Regions from separate parts of the Homo sapiens genome. Here region 1 is linked to region 2. Evidence: promoter capture Hi-C in 16 types of primary human blood cells and fetal thymus (Javierre and others, 2016). All regions are on one chromosome and are shown on one strand. Each heading gives the region's core, a stretch centred on a gene start or on the middle of the fragment in contact. The rest is flanking DNA. Distances are from core to core; before and after follow the strand shown.

Region 1 (6,704 bases), core at 2,944-5,443, 530 kb before region 2:
GCCACCATGGTTGGCTAATTTTTGTATTTTTAGTAGCGATGGGGTCTCACCATTTTGGCCAGGCTGGTCTCAAACTCCTGACCTCAAGTGATCCACCTGCCTTGGCCTCCCAAAGTGCTAGGACTACAGGCGTGAGACACGGTGCCCCGCCAAGAGTTTTAAGCAATAGAGTAAAGGATTGGATTTGGATTTGAGCAAGTTCATGCACTGCTGGGGTAGCGGGATCTGGGGCAGGGAGCCCTGGGGATGGTGGGGAGGTGGTGCGCAGTAGTGCACCTGTTCTTGTGGGAAGAAAGGAGTGGAGGGGTCCGGGGTAACAGGAGCAGGACCTGGCAGGGCATGGTGCCTTGGTGTGTTGAAGGGCGGGAAAGGGGAGAAGAGGAGAGAAGGAAGTGATCTTGGACCTGCAGGGCTGGTTCCTGGAAAGTAGGGGGTGGGGATGGGGTGTGCTTGTCAGGGCCCAGAGGAAGACTGGTTCGGCTCTGGCCCTTGGAGTGGAGTGACTGGGGTAGGAGGATTCAGTAGACTGAGGCCCCTGGGCCTGGAGCTTGGAGAAGATCTGAGCACCTGTGCCTGGAGAGTGAGTGGTCCTAGGACCCTGTGGAAGCACCTAGGGGCATGGAGAGTTCTCCACGCCCCAACTGCCTCTGACCCTACCCCATCTCTCCCATAGCTTCCCAGCATGCAGGTGAGGTGAGGGCTCTGAGTGTTGTCTGAATGCTCTGCGCCAGGTGTCAGCCAGGCCCCTTCCTATGTCCCCTTCCTTTATCCCCTCCGTCCTCACTGCTGGGTCCAGGCTGAAGTGTTCTGAAGCACTGCCCTGCCCCTGCTGAGCAATACTGGGCTCTACACAGAAGTGGGGAAAAGGGAGCCTCCTGCCCCTAAACTCTTGGGGTTGGGGCACAGCTGTCTGGGTGGCCTGAGACTCCTGCTAGCAGCCCCCACCCAATCCCTGTTCAAATGGGAGCCCAAGGGCCAGATGTGGTGGGGCAGGGGCTCCTTCCCACACTTTGGGGCCCCTCTAGGTGCCAGAGTACTTGAAACCTTCAGGTGAAACCAAAGCTTCCTAGCAAATGGGTTCCTGTCCCCACATCCAAGGGGACACCAGATCTACCCCTCTTCTGGGCCTAAATATCTTAAGGCTCAGCCAGGACCCCTTGCACACCCAATTCAGCCATATGCCCCCCACCCCCACCCTGCCTCCTCGGTGCTAATTTGTAACCTCCCAACAAGATCATTTTGCCCACTGCCCAGATAGAGCCAATTTATCAAGACAAGGGCATTGCAATAGAGAAAGAGGTTAATTCACACAGAGCCAGCTGAACAGAAGACCGGTGTCTTATTATTACTCAAGTCAGTCTCTCTGAAAACTTGGAGAATGGGGTTTTTTAAGAATAATTTGGTGGGTAGGGGGCAAGAGAGTAGGGAGTGATTATTGATTGGGTTAGAGATGAAATCACAGTGAGTCAAAGCCATCCTTTAGCACTGAGTCAGTCTCTGGGTGGGGGCCACAAGACATGATGAGCCAGTTTATCCATTTGGGTGATGCCTGATCCATCGAGTGCAGGGGCTGAAAAATATTTTCAGCACCAGTCTTAGGTTTTACAATAGTGATGTTATCCCTAGGAGTAACTGGGGAGGTGTAGAATCTTGTAGCCTCTGGCTACATGTCTCCTAAACCATAAATTTCTTTTTCTTTTTTTTTTTGAGACAGGGTCTTGCTCTGTTGCCCAGGCTGGAATGCAGTGGCATGATCTTGGCTCACTGCAACCTCCACCTCCTGGGTTCAAGTGATTCTCCTGCCTCAGCCTCCTGAGTAGCTGGGACTACAGGCGTGTGGCAACACGCTTGGGTGCTTTTTGTATTTTTAGCAGAGACAGGGTTACACCATGTTGGCCAGGGTGGTTTCAAACTCATGCCCTCAAGCAGTCCACCTACTTCAGCCATCCAAAGTGCTGGCATTACTGGCAGGAGCCACCGCTCCCAGCTGACTTCTAAACCATAATTTCTAATCTTGTGGCTAATTTATTAGTCCTACAAAGGCAGTCTGGTCCCCAGGCAAAAGGAAGTTTCTTTTGGGAAAGGGCTATTGTTACCTTTGTTTCAAAGTTAAACTATAACTATCTCCCAAAATTAGTTCTTACACCCCAAAATGAACAAGGGTAGCTGGGAGGTTAGAAGCAAGGTGGAGTCAGTTAGGTCAGATCTCTTTTACTGGCATAATTTTCTCACTGTTATAATTTTTGCGAAGGCAGTTTTAGAACTGGGAACCCAGAGCAGAATCAGTCAGAGCTCCATCAGCTGGGGAGTGGGGGCAGATGTACACATATCAGCCTAGGGGCAGGGTGGGGGCAGGTGCCGCTGCCTCTGGGCCCCAGATTGCACAGGGAGGACGCAGGCACCCCTCCTGCCCACCCTTACTCTTGAACCCTGCCAGCTGCTGCTGGCCTGTAGGACGCTGGAGAATCCAGGGACCCTGGGGACCCACAGGCCCCTCTTTGGCAATATGCAGGCAGCAGCCCCAGGTGCCGGCTTGGCTCCAGTTCTCTCCACTGGCTGGGGTCTTGGGCGGGATTTTCTCACTCCCAGGGTCGCGGGGCTACATCAGGAGCTTGCAGGGCCTGGCAGGAGGATTTAGGTGGACACTCCTAGCACTTGGGAAAACAGTCTGGCAGTTCCTCAAAAAGTTAAACATGGAGTTACCCTATGACCCAGGAAGTCCACTCCCAGACATATACCCGAGAGAGCTGAAGACAGATGTCCACTCCAAATCTTGCACATGCAGCCTGGGTTACACAGTGAGACTCCATCTCCACAAAAAAATAAAAATAAAAATTAGCCGGGCATGGGGATGCATGCCTGTAGTCCCAGCTATTAGGGAGGCTGAGGTGTGAGAATCAGTTGAGCCTGAGAAGTCGAGGCTGCAATGAGCCGTGATCACACCACTGCACTCCAGCCTGGGCCACAGAGTGAAAGCTTGTCTCAAAAAAAACCTTGCACATGAATATTCAAAGCATTATTCACAGTAGCCAAAGAGTGGAAAAATCCCAAATGTCTGTCAACAGATGAATGAATAAACAAAATGTGGTATATTCATACAATGGAATATTATCCAGCCCTAAAAAAGAATGAAGTACAGATCCATGCTACAACATAGATGGACCTTGCAAACATTATGCTAAGTGAAAGAAGCTAGACTTTGGAAGGCCAAGGCAGGAGGATCACTTGAGACCAGGAGCTGGAGATGAGCCTAGGCAACAGAGTATGACTCTGTCTCTACAAAAATTAAAAAGTTAGCTGGGCACATTGGCACACACCTGTAGTCCCACCTATTCAGGAGGCTGAGGCAGGAGGATTGCTTGAGCCCAGGAGTTTGAGGCTGCAGTGAGCTGTCATCACGTGACTGCACTCCAACCTGAGCAACAGAGTGAGACCCTGTCCCCCCGCAAAAAAAAAGAAAAGAAAAGAAAGAAAGAAGCCAGACTCAAAAGGCCACATATTGTATGATTTCAGTATATGAAATACCTGCAATAGCCAAATCCATTGAGATAGGATTTGAGGTTGCCAGGGGATAAGGGGATAAGGGGAGGGGGAAATGGAGAATGCTTGGGTATGAGGTTTCTATTGGGGTGGTGAAAATCCCGACCTCTAGATTAGCAGAGCATCCAGTTTCTCTGTATTAGAGCCCTCCATCCAATTATAAAGAAGAATCCAATGGGGAGCGTGCTTCCTCTATCCAATGGACCAGTAGTGTTTCCAAATCTCCACAAGCAGTGCCTTGTGGAGATGTTACTGGAAAGGACTCCCAATCTGAAATTAGATAGTGGTGATGGTTGCACAGTTTTGTAAATATACTAAAAACTACTGCATTTTATACTTTAAAGGATGAATTTTATGGCATGTAAATGATATCTCAATAAGAAAAATTAAAAAGATATAGTCAGAGAAGTGTCACTCCCTGCTCTTCCCTGCCATCCTATCCCATTCAACAGTTCTTTCCACTCCTTTCCACCTGTCCCTGTAGGTAGCCAATCGCACCAGTTTCTGATCTTTCCTTCTTGTACTTCTCTGCATAGATGAGCAGACACCTGTGTATGTTCTTATATTGTCTTCTCTCTCCATGTGTGTTCTGGGATTCACACTATCAATTCAATGTGCTCCTCCTCATTTTCTTTTACAGCTGCTTAATGCTCCATTGCTTGGATATACTACAATTTATTCAACCACTCTCCCACTTGTGGGTATGTAGATTGTTTCCAATATTTGCAATTAAAAAGAACGCGTCACTGAAAAAGGCTTTGCATGTGTATTTCCATACTGCCAGAGGTATGGGTTCTGAGTAGATTCCGAGAAGTGGAGTTGCCTCGGGTTAAAGGGTACATGCGTATGTAATTTTCTTAGGTATTACCAATTCCCCTAGAATTGTACCAAATTGTACCAAATTGTATTCCCACCAGCAACAGCTGTGAGTGACTGTTTCCCTACAACTTGGTGAACAGAATGTGTTGTGATCTTTTTTATTGTCAGTCTGAAAAGTGAAAAATGGCATCTCACTGTAGAGCGATTTGCCTCGCTCTAATTACCAGTGTCCTTGAATATTTTTTTCATAAGTTTGAGGGCCATTTTAATATCTTTTTTGGTTAGTTACCTGTTGGTGCCTTTCCCCTCACTTTACCATTGGATTTGGTGGTTTGTGGTATTTTGTTATAGCAGCCCGAGCTGACTAAGACAGGTGGCTTTGTTTTTTACACTTAGATCCCTAATCCATTCAGTTTATTCTTTTGTTGGATGTGTGCTATGGTTTAGATGTTTGTCCCCTCCGAGGCTCATGTTCAAATGTGATTTCTAGGGTTGGAGTGGGGCCTGATGGGAGGTGTTTGGCTCATGGAGGTGGTCCCTCATGAATAGATTAATGCCTTCCCTGGGGGTGAGTGACTTCTCACTCTCTTAGTTCCTGGGAGAGCTGCTTGTTGAAAGATTCTGGCACCCTCTCCCCTCTCTCTTGCTTCTCCTCTTGCCATGTGATATCTGCTCACATCAGCTCTCCTTCACCTTCCACCATGAGTGGAAGCAGCCTGAGGCCCTCACCAGATGCCCAGTCTTGAACTTTCCAACCATCAGAATTATGGGCCAAATAAACCTTTTTTCTTTATAAATCACCCAGTCTCAGGTATTCCTTTGCAGCAACACAACACAAAATATGACAGTGTAACATATGGATTTAATTTTATCTTTTTCCAAATGGCTCCCAGTTGTCCCGGCATTATCTATTGCAAAGTCTATGTTTAGTGTGTAGCAAAGGCAACATCTCAAATTAGTGGGGTAAAGATGTTTTGGGTCTAATCCTAGATTTTCTAGTCTATTCCAATTTATCTATTCATGTACCAGAACCATCCCAGTTTTAATTACAGAAGCTTTTTTTTAATTTTTTTTTTAATGTCTGGCAAGTCTAGTTTTCTCTCATGGTTTTTCTTTTCCAATGTCTTCTTATCTGTTCTTGCAAGTTTATTTTTCTATGTGAACTTTTGTATCAACATGTCTATCTTCATAAAATACCTTGCTGTTTCTTTTATTGGGATTACATGGAGTTTAACATTAACTTAGGGAGGACTAACACCATTACAATGTTGACTTTTCCTGTGCAAACAAAGGGATATTTTTCTGTTTGTTTTCCTTTCGTGTCTTTCAAAAATGTTCTAAAAATTTCATCATGGCCAGGCGTGATGGCTTACGCCTATAATCCCAGCACTTTGGGAGGCCAAGGTGGGCAGATCACCTGAGTTCAGGGGTTTGAGACCAGCCTGGCCAACATGGTGAAACCCCATCTCTACTAAAAATAAGAAAATTAGCCAGGTGTGGTGATGCACACCTGTAATTCCATCTACTAAGGAGGCTGAGACACAAGAATCACTTGAACCCAGGAGGCGGAAGTGAGCTGAGATTGCGCTACTGCACTCCAGCCTGGCGACAGAGTGAAACTCTGTTTAAAAAAAAAAAAAAAAAAAATCCTCATATAGGTTTATACATAAAGGCCATTATATTTTACATGTTAATTTTGTATCCTGCTACTTCACTGAACTCCTTTACTATTTGAATTAGTTTTATCATTGATTCTCTGGGGTTCTTCAGGTATATTATGCCGTATGTAAATAGAAATAGTTCTCCTTCTTCTTTACCATTCTTAGACCTCCAATTGATTTATCTTGTCTAATTGCATTGGCTAATACATCTAGTACAATGTGGAATAGTAGTGGAGATAATGGCATCCTTGCCATGTTTCTCTTCTTTCTTTCTTTCTCTTTTTTTTTTTTTTTTTTTAGAGTCAAGGTCTGACTCTGTCACCCAGGCTGGAGGTCATGGCATAATCAGGGCTCACTGCAGCCTCAACCTCCTGTGCCCAAGGGATCCTCCCACCTCAGCCTTTTGAGTAGCTGGAGCTACAGGCAAATGCCACCAAACCTGGCTTTTTTTTTTTTTTTTTTTTTGTATTTTGTTTTGTAGAGATGGGGTCTCGTTTTGTCACCTAGGCTGGCCTCAAACTCCTGGCCTCATGCAATCCTCTCATAGCAGTCTCCCAAAGTGTTGGGATTGCAGGCATGAACCACTGTGCCTGGCCCTTGTGATGTTCTTGATCTTAGTGGAAATGCTTCCAGTGTCTCTTGATTAAATAAGATGCTGGTTTATAGGACTATATCTTATCATAT
Region 2 (6,804 bases), core at 1,571-4,070:
CTATTCAAGAGCAAGGACTGTTTTTACTGCTGTTTTACCAAAGCTAACAGAGGTCTTCGTCCATGATGTCACTCTCAAGAGACTTTAATTGGTGATTTCTTGTTTCTGAAAATAGGAAGGTTGATTTGATGCAAAATATCCAATCAGTAGTAATTAATTATGTTAATTTTGCCCTTGTTCTTTAATTTAAAAAATGTCCAAAGTCCTTTTAATGACAATATGTATTACCACGATACTAAAATTTCTTACCAAAGTCCAAAACACTGGTTTTCTACATGACTCTTCCGGGTAAAAGTGAATTATCAGCAGAGCAGTAAATAAAATACATTCACATTAATCCTCAAGTGACTTCAAGTCTAGGGGAGCACTGAAAGGGTTACATTCATAGGATTGATTTAAAGGCAACTTCTTTAAACAGCAGTGACTTAAAAGTAATTCTAATTGCCGGGCGCGGTGGCTCACGCCTGTAATCCCAGCACTTTGGGAGGCCGAGGCGGGCAGATCACAAGGTCAGGAGATCAAGATCATCCTGGCTAACACAGTGAAACGCCATCTCTGCTAAAAAATACAAAAAAAAAAAAAAAAAAAAAAAAAAAAAAAAAAAAAAAGCCAGGTGTGGTGGCAGGCGCCTGTAGTCCCAGCTACTCGGGAGGCTGAGGCAGGAGAATGGCGTGAACCCGGGAGCAGAAGTTGCAGTGAGCTGAGATCACGCCATTACACTCCAGTCTGGGAGACAGAGCGAGACTCTGTCTTAAAAAAATAATAATAATAAATAATTCTAATTTAAATTCTTTCTGGCCAGGCAATCAACACAGGAAAGAGAAAAGGTCTTGATTTTCTACTAGTTTGTGTCTTGTGAAAGAATTTTTTTTTTTTTTAGACGAAGTCTCACTCTGTTGCTCAAACTGGAGTGCAGTGGCACTGTCTTGGCTCACTGCAACCTCCACCTCCCGGGTTCAAGGGATTCTCTTGCCTCAGCCTCCCGAGTAGCTGGGACTACATGTGCGCACCACCATGCCCAGCTAATTTTTGTATTTCTAGTAGAGACGGGGTTTCACTATGTTGGCCAGGCTGGTCTTGAACTCCTGACCTCGTTATCCGCCTGCCTCGGACTCCCAAAGTGCTGCACCTACAATGGGCCACCCCAGGGGACAAGCTGTTGGGACTGGAATGCGGTGGCAAGAGCCGTGCACTCTGGCTGCTGAAACCTGCTGTTTCCACTGTAAGCTACCACTTAGTGAATATTTTCTACGTATTGGGAACTGTACTAAGTGGCTTTCATGTTTTGTTTTTTGTTTGTTTGACTGGTTTGTTGTTGTTGTTGTTGTTGTTGTTGTTGTTTTTGAGACGGAGTTTCGCTCTTGTTGCCCAGGCTGGAGTACAATGGCGCGATCTAGGCTCACCACAACCTCTGCCTCCCGGGTTCAAGCGATTCTCCTGCATCATCCTCCCGAGTAGCTGGGATGACAGGCATGCGCCACCATGCCCGGCTAATTTTGTATTTTTAGTAGAGACGGGGGTTTCTCATGTTGGTCAGGCTAGTCTCGAACTCCCGACCTCCGGTGATCCGCCCGCCTCGGCCTCCCAAAGTGCTGGGATTATAGGCGTGAGCCACCGCGCCCAGCCGCGCCCGGTTTTTGTTGTTGTTTTTGTTTCTAAAAACAGCGTCTCGCTCTGTGGCCCAGGCAGGGGTGCAGTGGCGCGATCTCAGCTCACTGCAGCCTGGAACTCCTGGGGTCAAGCGGTCTTCCCACCTAAGCCTCTCCGTGCTGGGACTCCGGACGCGCTCCACCTCACGCAGCCGTATTCCTGCTTTCAAAGCAGATGGAAGAGGTGCGCCAGGACCCCCAGTTCTTGGAAACAGACCTCTCCAGTTACCTGTTGTTTCCTCTTCACGAAGAGTGCATGTAACAGTAAGACACAACTGTTTCATATTATACGTAAAGAGTTCATGCCAAAGGTTATAGACAGTCACATGCTAAAACTAGGCTACACTTTGAAGAATCACCGCTCAAGTTCTGGAAAAAAGAGGTGACTGTTGAACAACACTGTGAGGGTAATCGATGCCACTGAAATATACACTTAAATTGATTAAAGTGGCGAATTTTATCTGGCATATATTACCACCATTTTTAGAAATGTTTTTTGGCAGGTGAAGAAAAGCAAGGCTCCAGGAGGCCCTGCGCACCGGTCTACGCCCACTAACTCACCCGCCCCCTGCGCCGCGTCTCCCCTCTCAATTTCAGTCGCCCATTGATAAAAACGAGGTGGCTATGTGAGATGGCCTTCAGCGGTCTTTCCAGCTCCACGGTTTTACAGTGTGGAGCGGGGAAAGAAAAACTCTAAGGTCCTCGCTGCAAAGCAACCATCAGAGCTCCGCCGCGCCGTGCCGCTCCTCTCCGCCCCGTGGTCCGGGTGTCACCGCCCGCAGGGGCGCAAGGGCCGCAGCACGCGTGCGCAGTGGGCACCAAGAGCGCTGCGTCGACCGCGCCGCGCCGGCCCTCCGCCGCCGCGCCCGCCTACAAGGCCCTGAGGGAGACTGCGGAGGGTGAGTGCGCGGTGGGCTCGGCTGACCGTTGGCCCTGCGGCCGGCGCCCTAGGCTACCTCCCTTCGCCTCCCCGCGCCTCCCCGCGCCTCCCCGCCTCCCCGCCTCCCCGCCTCCTCGGCTCTGGTTCCAACACCCCAGCGCCAAGCCGGGGAGGCGGGGAGGACTTCTTAAGTGTGCCGCTCGGGAGCCTCCCGCTCGTCCCGCCCCGAGGGGCGTGAGGAGGGGAGGGGCTGCGGACTTCGGACTCGGGCCTGGAGACCGCCTCCTACCCAGAGCCGGAGCCCGCAACCCGCTCAGGCGGCGACGGAGCCATGTCGCCGCTGCTGGGGCTCCGGTCCGAGCTGCAGGACACCTGCACCTCGCTGGGACTGATGCTGTCGGTGGTGCTGCTCATGGGGCTGGCCCGCGTAGTCGCCCGGCAGCAGCTGCACAGGCCGGTGGCCCACGCCTTCGTCCTGGAGTTTCTAGCCACCTTCCAGCTCTGCTGCTGCACCCACGAGCTGCAACTGCTGAGCGAACAGCACCCCGCGCACCCCACCTGGACGCTGACGCTCGTCTACTTCTTCTCGCTTGTGCATGGCCTGACTCTGGTGGGCACGTCCAGCAACCCGTGCGGCGTGATGATGCAGATGATGCTGGGGGGCATGTCCCCCGAGACGGGTGCGGTGAGGCTATTGGCTCAGCTGGTTAGTGCCCTGTGCAGCAGGTACTGCACAAGCGCCTTGTGGAGCTTGGGTCTGACCCAGTATCACGTCAGCGAGAGGAGCTTCGCTTGCAAGAATCCCATCCGAGTCGACTTGCTCAAAGCGGTCATCACAGAGGCCGTCTGCTCCTTTCTCTTCCACAGCGCTCTGCTGCACTTCCAGGAAGTCCGAACCAAGCTTCGTATCCACCTGCTGGCTGCACTCATCACCTTTTTGGTCTATGCAGGTTTGTCATTCTCACCAAATACTTGGCACTTCCAGAGCCTCTATGACATGAGGCTGTAAGTTCTTTACTAAAATACATTTGAAACCGTCTATCCCGCTATGATGTAAATGCTGGTATCCCCGTTATTCTAACCATTTTGCAGCCCGTTCTTAACCAGTAGGGCCGACACGTAGAGCCTTCATGCAGTGCTGCTTTGAACACCCAGAGAAAGGAGCCACCTCTGTGCTGAAACTGAGATACTGTGAGATATTGCCAAGGGTTCAGATATCCTACAAAGGGATTGTTTTAATGGTAGAAAGGAAAGATAACTTATTAACTGCCTCTTTCTTCATGCCAAGGTGGTATAGATCGTTTCGGATACTCTTACTGAAAAATGATCCTGGCTTTACAAAGTTCCTTTCGATTTAAAGCACAAGGCACATGATTGGTTAGTATAAGAGCGGAGGGTAGAAATTTTGTAGTTCCATTTTAGTCCTATAAATGATTTAAAGTCATTTCTTATTTCCTTAATAATTCATTTTGAGTTATGAAATTTCTTATTTCCTTAATAATTCATTTTGAGTTATACATGAACTTTTAAGTGACCTATTAAGAAAAATGTTTAAATGATAACTTGCTTCAAATTAAAGATGCTTTTTAAAATATAACTCTTGAGAAATCTGTTGATTTCTTTTAAACCATTTGTTTACTTTGACAGATCTCAGATGCAGTGGGCAATCTAGTCCTAAGTGGGAGGAGGAAATCCAAAACACAAGTATTTAATGATGAAATGTGTCATTTTAAATGATTACAACAGAATATCTTTATTGGGACTACATCTAAATTATAAAAGACTGTGGAGGCAGAAATAACAACAAAGGAAATTTGTGGTAATAATCTTCTGCCCATTAAAAGTGAAACAATGACTAGAAGCAAACTTCAAGATAAGGACTCCTAAACACGTACTTGACCTTCTAGGGTAAAAATGAAAGCCTTCAGCCGGGCGCGGTGGCTCACGCCTGTAATCCCAGCACTTTGGGAGACCGAGGTGGGTGGATCACCTGAGGTCAGGAGTTTGAGACCAGCCTCGCCAACATGGTGAAACCCCGTCTCTACTAAAAATACAAAAAAAATTTAGCCAGGCATGGTGGTGGGCGCCTGTAATCTCAGCTACTCGGGAATCTGAGGCGGGAGAATTGCTGGAACCCGGGAGGCGGAGGTTGCAGTGAGCTGAGATCGCGCCATTTTACTCCAGCCCAGGCGACAACAGTGAGACTCTGTCTCAAAAAAAAGAAAGAAAGCAAGCCTTCCCAATCAATTTCCCCTTCTTTAGGTCTAGTACCACTTTTTAAGTAGACATAAATGGAAATAAGTGGTATAGAAGAGTGAAGGGGGCCGGGCACGGTGGCTCACACCTGTCATCCCAACACTTTGGGAGGCCAAGGCAGGTGGATCGCTTGAGCCCAGGCGTTCGAGACTAGCCTGGGCAACATAAGAGAAATCCCATCTCTCCAAAAAATACAAAAATTAGCCGGGCGTGCTGGTGCGCACTTGTAGTCCCAACTACTTGGGAGGCTAAGGTGGGAGGATCACCCAAGTCCAGGAGGTTGAGATTGTGGTGAGCTGTGATAGTGCCACTGCACTCCAGCCTGGGTTATAGAGACCCTGTCTGTCTCAAAAGAAAAAAAAAAAGAAAAAGAGAAAAAGAGTGACAAGTACAGGCATATTTGAGGGATTGGTGGGTAGTTGCTTATTTATTGAAGTTTTAGATTTTAGCTAAAGCAGAAACATCCCCTGTATATGAACAGAATTGTCACTGCAAAAAGAGTTATGCTATGGTTTAGCTCTTTATTTCTACAATTAAAAGCAGTAAAAACTTAAAAAAGAATTTTTACATCAATAGAACATTAACTACAGTTGGATTTTTCAATACCTATGTTCCTCTTCCCTCTCTTGATTAACCTGAAGTTGATATTCTTTCTGTCTACTTTTAATACATATTTATGATTCCATAGATAATACTGTATATATTAGCCATTCCCTATTTTATCAGTGACAAAAAATTTGAGAGAAGAGACACAGATAATACTTGGAGTTATAGATCCAGTCATAGATATAAGGAAAGTTATTAGAAGTATCTATAAAATATCAACAGATCAAAAACACTGCCCTTTTTTTCTTGAAATGAGGGTACTAATTGATGGGGGAGAGGGAGAGTATAAAGGGAACACTAGAGCAGTGTTTCTCTCTGTATTAAAATCACCTGGGGAGCTCTTTAAACGTCCTTGTTCTGGGCCCACAGATTAAAATCCAATTGCTCTGGCAAGGGGCCTAGGCAGCGGTGTATTGTAAAGCTTCACAGGTGATCCCATTATGAAACCAAGGTAAAGAAGCACTGCTTTAGGAGTCTAGACCTGCACTGTGCAATTCAGTAGCCACTAGCTGCATGTGGCTGTTTACACTTAAATTAACTGAAATTAGATTCAGAGTAGCCACATTTCAAGTGGTCAGTTGTCAAATTGTGCTGTAGCTAGTGGGTACAGGATTGGACAGTGCTAGAGTCTGTTTGCATGGGTAGAACAAAATAGACAATTGTTGATTACTATTAGTTACAGAAATTTATAATGCAGTATGATCTTCCCTTTGTTTGTTTTCTGCCAATATAAGGGAGATAAGAATATTCAGTTGTCAGCTGTTATAGGCCAAGCATTTTGCAAGGAAATTTATGAGAGTTATCTTAATTAATTCTTACAACAACCCATCGGCCGGGCGCGGTGGCTCACGCCTGTAATCCCAGCACTTTGGGAGGCCGAGGCGGGCAGATCACGAGGTCAGGTGATCGAGACTATCCTGGCTAACACGGTGAAACCCCGTCTCTACTAAAAAATACAAAAAAATTAGCCAGGCATGGTGGCGGGTGCCTGTAGTCCCAGCTACTGGGGAGGCTGAGGCAGGAGAATGGCATGAACCCGGGAGGCAGAGCTTGCAGTGAGCCGAGATCGAGTCATTGCACTCCAGCCTGGGAGACAGAGCGAGAGAGCGAGACTCCGTCTCAAAAAAAAACAAAAACAAAAAAAAACAACCCATCGATGAATATATTCTTCCCATTTTAAGTAAAGTAAGTGAGGCCCAGAAAAGTGAAATGACTTATCTAAGCTTACATAACTAGACTGTGTTAGAACTATGGTTCCAACTGGCACTAAAGCTCATACGGATTCATTATCAGCATTTCCACAGTGTGCTCCTCAAAAGTTAACAAAACTATACACAATTGAATATATTCAGCCATAAAAAGGAATGAAGTTATGATGTATACTACAACATGAATGAACCTCAAAAACAATAT

The links. The method cuts DNA at HindIII sites, captures the fragments that hold promoters and counts their contacts. A CHiCAGO score of 5 or more calls a contact.
Region 1: a contact is called between a fragment that was not itself captured here and the fragment with the promoter of AQP11 in region 2, in 2 of 17 cell types (erythroblasts and endothelial precursors). The highest score is 5.7, in erythroblasts.

Annotation. Positions count from the first base shown.
Region 1 is chr11:77,055,721-77,062,424 of GRCh38, forward strand. It overlaps LOC105369400 (a long non-coding RNA gene), which reads right to left. Exons shown (of 3, transcript XR_950341.1): 2 at 3,647-3,810; 3 at 2,681-2,810. Among named protein-coding and RNA genes, the nearest start is that of CAPN5, 7.9 kb to the right of the region's middle. The HindIII fragment of the contact is 2,438 bases long and covers 2,975-5,412 here.
Region 2 is chr11:77,587,133-77,593,936 of GRCh38, forward strand. AQP11 (aquaporin 11) reads left to right here and starts at 2,821. Exons shown (of 3, transcript NM_173039.3): 1 at 2,821-3,479. The coding sequence starts at 2,861. RefSeq lists a silencer at 2,168-2,797. The HindIII fragment of the contact is 3,851 bases long and covers 1-3,428 here.